Regions from separate parts of the Homo sapiens genome. Here all the other regions are linked to region 1. Evidence: promoter capture Hi-C in 16 types of primary human blood cells and fetal thymus (Javierre and others, 2016). All regions are on one chromosome and are shown on one strand. Each heading gives the region's core, a stretch centred on a gene start or on the middle of the fragment in contact. The rest is flanking DNA. Distances are from core to core; before and after follow the strand shown. Region 1 holds the start of COX18 (cytochrome c oxidase assembly factor COX18). Region 2 overlaps YTHDC1 (YTH N6-methyladenosine RNA binding protein C1). Region 3 has its middle 4.0 kb from the start of CCNG2.

The links. Contacts are between HindIII fragments. The CHiCAGO score rates a contact against its expected background, and 5 or more counts as called.
Region 2: a fragment that was not itself captured here is called in contact with the fragment with the promoter of COX18 in region 1 in 1 of 17 cell types (total CD4 T cells); the score reaches 6.1 in total CD4 T cells.
Region 3: a fragment that was not itself captured here is called in contact with the fragment with the promoter of COX18 in region 1 in 1 of 17 cell types (non-activated CD4 T cells); the score reaches 7.1 in non-activated CD4 T cells.

What each region holds. Positions count from the first base shown.
Region 1 is chr4:73,068,369-73,071,181 of GRCh38, forward strand. It overlaps COX18 (cytochrome c oxidase assembly factor COX18), which reads right to left and starts at 1,348. Exons shown (of 6, transcript NM_001297732.2): 1 at 949-1,348. The coding sequence starts at 1,281. LOC112268467 (a long non-coding RNA gene) reads left to right here and starts at 1,578. Exons shown (of 2, transcript XR_002959797.2): 1 at 1,578-1,661. RefSeq lists enhancers at 667-1,182, 1,117-1,636, 1,183-1,699. The HindIII fragment of the contact is 3,732 bases long and covers 1-2,090 here.
Region 2 is chr4:68,340,067-68,342,879 of GRCh38, forward strand. All of the region lies in intron 1 of YTHDC1 (YTH N6-methyladenosine RNA binding protein C1), which reads right to left. Among named protein-coding and RNA genes, the nearest start is that of YTHDC1, 8.6 kb to the right of the region's middle. The HindIII fragment of the contact is 1,993 bases long and covers 401-2,393 here.
Region 3 is chr4:77,151,778-77,154,590 of GRCh38, forward strand. No RefSeq gene overlaps it. Among named protein-coding and RNA genes, the nearest start is that of CCNG2, 4.0 kb to the right of the region's middle. RefSeq lists an enhancer at 817-866 and a silencer at 2,577-2,646. The HindIII fragment of the contact is 2,089 bases long and covers 302-2,390 here.

The DNA of each region.
Region 1 (2,813 bases), core at 98-2,597:
CCCTCACATATAAAATATATAACAGCACCTACTTCACAGGGTTACAAATATTAGATAAGAACTGCACCCTGGGCTTTACTGTTCCATCTCTACATTTCCTAGTAACGTAAGCGGAGAAAACAGCAGTTTGTTAAGAACCTTTAATACACTGTGATAGCCACAAATCAAAAGTAAAAATAGCATTTATTCCTGCCCTGTGCTCATTCTTCCTGTAAAATGGCTCACTGCCTTAATGTTGCTGCTGATTCCGTTCCTGTTTTGTTTCCGGTTTTTTTTCCCCATGCTCACAACCTGAAAACAAGAAAGCCACTATTTTTGAAATATCCCATTTGAATAATCAAGCACTTTAACCCGTATTATCTGACTTGCTCTGATAACGCTGTGAAGTAGGCAAGGAAGGTACTGCTAGCCTGATTCCTCAGAAAAAAGGATTCAGCATTAAAAGGTCAAGTAACTGCGACCAACCAGACACAGTCTTAGTCGGGTCTGGAGAGGAAACAAGTTCGCAAACTGTTAGTCTAGTAGTTTCTTCCTAATAAGAAAGACCAGCTGGAATACTTTGGGACGAAAGACACTGCAGACATACTGGCTATTAAAACTTTTAAGACATAAATTTTGTAGGTTTCGCCAACACAATTTCTTCTGCGACTGATTTCTTTGTCTCCGTTCCCCGAGAGCAAGTATAGTAACCACTTGTGCTTGGAGCACAAATCCAGTAAGACAAAAGAAATGACAGGTACACGTGTCACAAAGTATCTTATTTAACACACCTAATGCTAGTTCAATTTTTTTTAACGCTAAAATGGTCACAATGAAATGGTCACGATGATTAAACACTAAGCACTGCAGAAGGCAACATCGTGCGATCGAAAACCCTGAGTGAATGTCGGCCTTCCTCCGCCGCAGGGGTTGCAGCGCAGGGTACGCGCACGGCTCGGCGCCCCTCACCTTGGCCAGGATGTAGTGCTGGTAGGCTGCCAAAGGCAGCGTGACAGCACCCCGTAAGGCCACGGTGGAGAGCAGAATGCTGCCCCACCAGGGCAGGCCCGTGGCGGCGTGCACGCCGAGCAGTACTTCCTCCGCAACCCGCACCGGCGAAGACGCGGCCAGGGCCTCGTACCAGCCGTTCGCATGTACTGCAGAGACTGGTGCCACTGCCCACACTGGGAGAGTGGGGCGCTTGGCGCCGCTCGTAGGAACCGGCGCAAGCGGCAGGTCCCTAGCCCAAAGCTGCAGGGCAGGGAGCGGCCGCAGCCACCGACCGCCGAGCCGGCACAGCATTTCTGCACCACGGCGGAGCCCAGATCCCGGGCCTCACAATCCAGCGGACATACACCGGCCAGCCAAGGCTGATACGCGCACGCGCCAGCAACAGCGGGCATAAAGCGCATGCGCGCCTGCCTGCAGCCGCGATTGACCTTCCCAGTCAAGCCGGTGACGTCTTGCGTCGCAGTGGATGTGACGCAAGAGATAGGAAAGTCCCGCCTTTCCCACGCGGCACTGGACAGGCCTACTGCGCACACGCGAAAGTTTCCCGCTGCTAGGGTGTAGTTAGTCCGAGGCCGGACCAAAACTGCAGAGACATGGGTGGAGCCTGCTGCCCTCCGCCAGGCTGGGTGTTCTTTAGGGAGCTCTCGCCTTGTAAAGTTCATCTACACCGTGTAACTTACCATTCTTTTTCACTAAAGCTAATAGTCATTTGTAGTGGAATTATCCTTGCTCGGTTTTTTGTGACCAGAAGCTGATCCCCAACCTCTTTACGTGCACCTGATTGCTTCCGTTAGCGATTACGATAGATTATCATACTCAAGAGTCACACGTTGCTAAAGTACCTGCTTGTAGAGAGACGCATGTTTCTTGCTGACTCTGAGTGTTAAGCACGAGGGATAGTTCAGTCTCTTGTAGATTTAATTGGCCCATCTGTTCCAGTTAGTATTTGGACCACCAACTGCAAACTGAATTTCTTCGGTGTTTTGTCTTCCATGATAAATAGCAGCAAAAATCTTATAGTAAAAGTATCATCTCTTTATTTAAGGGAAACTATCACTGGCAGTACGGTGAATTCCTTGAGTTTACTTGTATCCTATATAAGCTTTAAAGAGCCTGAACAGCAGCACTGGCTGTCTTCTGGTTTAAAGGAATACGTTGAATCTACATGGACTATATAGTTTTAACTTTTGTGTTCCTGGAAACAACAAAATGGAATGTTGTGGAGGAGTTTCCTCACCGAAGGGTCACCCCTAGACTACAGACTAAAATATGTTGTGAGGAGTAAACCTTGATTTTTATTTATTTATTTATTTACTTACTTAGGAAAAGAAGCCTCCAACAATGTTGGGTAATGTCAAACGCCAGCTATTGTTTGCCCTTCACTGTGCACCTAACCAAGGGTACCCTACGATAACTTTCTCAGGATTCTGGAATTCATCTGCTTTCCAAACTGACTGATAAATCTATACATGAATTTTTAAATGTGTTTAAACACACAGCACAACACACACTATATATAAACTTTTTCTAAAAGAAAAACCTACCAATCTATTTCTTTATCCATTTATTAAGCTAACAAAAAAGCCATCAGTTGCTACTGACTACTGTTCAGCTGTTCATAATCTGAACAGAATTTTAAAGTTATTTTTGCTAGACACAGTGGATCACGCCTGTAATCCCAGCACTTTGGGAGGCCAAGATGGGAGGATACCTTAAGGGCAGAAGTTAGAGATCAGCCTTGGCAACATGGCAAGACCTCATCTCTACAACAAATACAAAAATCATCCAGATGTGGTGGCTTGCATCTGTGGTCTCAGCTACCA
Region 2 (2,813 bases), core at 147-2,646, 4.7 Mb before region 1:
ACAGAACAATTACATTTGTGGCTTCAGGAAAAAAACAAAGCCCACATGAATTACAGAAAGGTCTATTAATTAACCTGGGGGCTATAAACAGGTTAAATGGGATTCAAATTTTCCCCAAAGTGGGAAAGAAATCTGTGACTGAAGAGAATAGTTAATACAAACGATAAGGTTACATAGGAAATGGAAAAGATATCATTTTCCTTTACATTTGGAAACAGACACAATCTAAAGATATCTGAAAATTACTATGTCTGGAATAGCAAAATTGATCATTTTGGGTGGTACCAATGCTGATATGTACTTTCTATCATTTTTCTAAAATGAAAACAGGCTATATGGGTTTTTATTTTTGTTTACTTTTAAAAAATCTTATTTAAAATCAAGATATGTCAAACAAAAAAGCTTCTCTCATCATCTAGATTCATGTTTTTGCTAAGAAAAATTTCTTCAAGATCTGAATGGTGGCAAACACCATTTTCGGACTCTAAATTATAAAAAAAATAGTCTGATAGAAGTAAATCAATGTTTTACAGATGTTTAATAAGTACTGGGTCAAAGCTCACTAATCAGTAAAAAAGTAGATCCAACAGGTCTTCACAGAATCAAATACATTTGTAGAAGACAAAAAGAAAAAATTTCAAGACTATCACAATGAAACAGGCAAATAATGCTATACAAATCTTTTCATAAAATCACTAGATCTTATTCAGAAATATCATCCCCGAACCCTGAACATTTATATTATATACTTTAGACATGCTAAATTTAATACAGAATGAAATAATTTTGCAGAATGTTAATTTAAATAAATTTAAGTTTCAAACACACTTAAAGCCTGGTTTTCCTATAAAAAGGGGTATTACTGTTTTAAAGTTTTAACGAATTCAAATTCAGATACTGGTTGTAGTTTTAGAAAGCACCTACAACCTTTTTCAAGACAACAAATATTAACCAATGCTTACTACTTTTTAAAAATACTTTGTCACTTTTAAAATTTTATCACTTTTAAAATATATCATATATACAAATCATATAAAATAGAGCATGTTTAATCATTCATTACTTTGCAGATAAAGAAAGAGAAGCTCAAATGTTCCAGTTGACCAAATACACTTGTCTAGTAACAAATGGATATTAGTATGAAGTTCCGGCTTTAGAAATTGACAGTTAAATCAGATGGGGAACAATAAAAGCAACTTTAACCAAAGTATAAAGAACACAAATGCAAAATATTAAAAGGGCATATATACTAGAACATAAATTTCAAATTAGTGCACCAGAAAGCTCTATATCTTTAACATTACAACATTTAAAATCTACTGAAATATTCAAAATCAACTATAACACCCTCACTTAAATGATGTACACACTTTTATCCGTATTATAGTCCATAACATCAATAAACTGTGTGGTTTTACCACAAACTGGCAAACTAAAACCTACAGGATAAACATGGCCCATTGCCTATTTAGAATGGCCTGCAAGAATGGTTTTTACGTTTTTAAGGCGCTTATTAACAAGAAAAAAAAAAAAGCAAAGAATATGTCAGAGAACACTTACAGCCCACAAAGTCTATTTGGCCCTTTACAAAGAGTTTTGCCAACCCCTGATATAATACAAATGACCAAATTTTAAGTACTTTTCTCCATCACTGAAACTCCTTATATATACACTGGAATATAATATACAAGGGGAAAAGTCTTGGAGGTTAAGGAAATGCAGGTTATAGCTTGCATTTAGGTATCAGGAAATTCCCAGTCTTTCTGAGTTCAAGATTCTTCACCTCTGATAAGAGGCACTTAAAAAAGGTCAGTTTTGGGGAAAGGAAAAGCAGGACATTTGAATCTTCTATGAGTTTTTCAACCTGTAAGAAGACTCTCCTTCCTTATAACTATTGGACTTTAATAAAACCTGCCTGCCCCAACCCTCTTGCTAATGACTGGGCTATGTGATATATATAAAATCTGGTCCAGAACACAAAACAAAATTCCTTCTTCAACAAAACAGGTATGGTATATGCATACATGTTCTGATTATCTACTGCTGTATAAGATGATCACCCTAAAACTTGACTTAAAATGGTAACACCTTTCATTATGGCTCATGGTTCCAGGGCTCAACCGGGGTCTCCCATGTGGCTGCAGTCAAATGGGGCTGGGGCTGGGGCTGAAATCATCTGAAGGCTTGTTCATTGACAAGTCTCGTTGATGTCTAGGCTGGGAAGATTCAAAGCTGGAGCTTCTCCAACATTTCTGTGTGTGTGATTACTCATTACTATGGCAACCACCGAGTAGGCAGATCTTTTACATGGTAGTTTAGGACTCTCGTGTCCCAACAGAGACGGGAACAGGTAGAAATCCAGCAACACCATCACAGTATTTATTCATCACAAAAGCTTACCTAGCTTCAAACAGAGGGGACACATATTCCAATCACTGTTGACAGAAGTGTCATACATAATACATGACAGATGTTTCCAAAATTACTATAGTTTTATTTAAGGGTAAATATTTTAATTATATACTTGAGGTGCATTTTTAATAACAAAAATTCATTTAAATAGGTCAATGTTAAAGCTTATAGTATTAAGTTATAAAGCTAATGTAAACTGCTGCTTCTGGCCATATTCTTCACTGACTTGAAAAAGTACACTTTGCATACATTTTAATTCATTTTTTTAACGTAGAATGAATTATAAAAGAAGAAACATTTTAATACTCTCACAAGCTACTGCTGTTAAAGACTATAATCATCACTGGCATATCCTTTTTGAAAAGAAATAATTATCTCTTTTAGATATAAAGTAATATCCA
Region 3 (2,813 bases), core at 96-2,595, 4.1 Mb after region 1:
AGACCTGAGGATCTTTGATATAAAGCAGTCTTTCTTTTTTTCTGAGACGGAGTCTCGCTCTGTCACCAGGCTGGAGTGCAGTGGCGTGATCTTGGCTCACTGCAACCTCCACTTCCCAGGTTCAAGTGATTCTCCTGTCTCAGCCTCCCAAGTAGCTGGGACTACAGGTGTGTGCCACCACACCCAGCTAATTTTTGTATTTTTAGTAGAGACAGGGTTTCAACAGCAGTCTTTCTTTTTAAAGTTAAAAAAAAAATTTCATTTTGAAAACACTTTAAAATGTTAACAGAAGCAAATTTTAAGCTTATACCACTTATCCATATCACTTTAAACATCAATTGCCTTTTCATTTGAGATAAAAAAAGAGATCATGACTCTCACAGACAGTAAAACTTCTTTTGGAAATAAGATGATACATTCAACAGATGTATCCTAAGTTACTCTTTGCTGACAGTGTCAACTTCATATAGCACTGTGATGTCAAGGAAAGACAGGAAATCTCTGAGTTAGGTCATGGTTCTTGAAACAAACCATGAAAGAAAAATGTGTTACATAAAGAATCATGTACAATGTACCAGAATGTAGCCTGAGCCACTTAAAATATATTTTAAGATGATTTTGAGATGATTAGTTCTGATTTCAGGCATTGCCGAATTCTCAGTTCACTCTCCTTTGCCAGGCTTTTCACATTATGTCAAAGCTACTTCATTTATTTCAGTTGATTATTCGTGTAAAAGAGAGAGCACTGGATAACAAAGTACTGAGTCGGGCTTCAGAGTCAACCGAGCATTTAGTTCTCAAGTTCTCAGGTTGCAGAGATAGTTCCTACAAGGCTACTCTCTTGCAGGCTAGTAGAACTGGGAGGGACTAAAGTGGCTGGCTGGAAAAACTGGTCCTCTTGCTGTAGTCATTCAGATGGTGTCTACAGTGTGGATAATTTCCACAATTCCAAAGCCAACCCTACGTAGATAAACACTATGAATGTTTATGAATATGGCCAACCCTTGCATAAACACTCTTCCAAAAAAACAGGGCATGCTTCTAGCATTAACAACAAAAGCAACAAAATATATAGTAAATGGATTGTAAAATGTTGATTTCAAATTTGAGATGGTCTTGTTTGTGGGAAAATCAGAAAGGAGAATATATGAGATGTTTCACTGACTTATTCTGCTGATTGCTTGAAGACAGAGATTAATCATCTGCTATATAAATCATCTCATTCTTCCAGGTTCTGATTTAAAAATGAGCTCTTGGTTGAAAAATCTGCATTACTTCAAGATAGCACCCTATGCTACTATGCTATACCTTCCCTGTTTCTCTTCCTCAGAGAGGCATTCCTGTCTCCATTGCAGGTTCTGTGAAGCAAGACTTATCTAAGCAGGAAGTTTGGGGCTGCAAACCACTTTTTTTTTTTTTTTTGAGACAGGGTTTTGCTCTGTTGCCCAGGCCAGAGTGCAGTGACATGATCATGGCTCACTGTAGCATAGACCTCCCAGGCTCAAGCAATCTTCTTGTCTCAGGCTCACATGTAGCTGGGACTACGGGTGCATGCCACCACGCCCAGATAATTTTTAAAATTTTTTGTAGAGATGAAGTCTCGCTATGTTGCCCAGGCTGGTCTTGAACTCCTGGGCTCAAGTGATCCTCCCACCTCAGCCTCCCAAAGTGCCGGGATTCCAGGTATGAACCACTGTGCTCAGCCTAATGACAGAAAACAGCCCAGGCAGGGACCCAGCAATAGTGAGTAGACGGGGAGGGGGAGTATGGCCTCATGTCAGCTTTACGTATCCTTATCCTCAGGTTCTTTCCTTTCAGGGCTGCTTTCCACCAGACTTCTTTGATGAGGTTAGGGATGATCCCTTCCTTTCCCTTCATGAAGTCACAACATGGTGCAGCCTAGAAATATATAGCTAGTTGCTTTCACAAATGTTTGTATTCAGTCATCACATATGAAGCAGACACAACTACCTCTGGCTTTTTGTTTTCCTCAGTTTAGAAAGCTGAGGCTCAAGACCATGGGAATTATTCAGGGTATTCAAGGCACCATTTCTAATGAGTAGGAAAGCTGAGACACAAAGCCAGTTTGATCCATGGCCAGTGCTTTTGCCCTACACCTCAGACATACCAGGGTATATGCTGGGGCCTTGTTTTATTTATGTATTTTTGTATTCCTGGTGCCTAGTAGCATGCCTGGCACTCAGTGTGTATTCACTAAATTTCGATTGAATAAAAAGCTAGGATTTATTGTCAAAAACCATATCTTTGAGGAGAAAGATGATATTTGGAAAATTGTAGCAATTTTGATGCCTTATGAAGTTCAGGGAAGTCTAAGTCATTTAGGGAAGCACTGCAACTGTCCCATGAGAGTGCCCTATTTTCAAGGTAGAAGCTTAAGTGTGAGCAGGTTTGCAGCACACTTGTCAGGAGTCAGGGATTCACTGAATGTAGTCAGTGTTTCTGTGTGGGCACTCCCTGCTTATTACCCATTCTGTGAGCACCTTTTAGTTTCAGTCTCACATGTCACTGAGGACAATGGGCTGCACATCAGGCTTTCATGGGGTTATTGGTGACAGTATCACCCAACCCCACTGCACCCCTACCACATGCTGTAGAAAACCAAGTATCTTAAATTGTCTGGAAGTTCTTGGGGGCTGCCAAGTTTCTGATTTCCTTATTTTGTATGTGTGCATGATACAGGAAATTTGCCTTCCAGAAAGCTCAGGAAAGGCTAATGGGTAAAGCCTGATTAGCCTAAGGGGAATAATGTCTTTTTCATAAATAACACTTTCAGCTCCGGCAAGGTAAGCCAA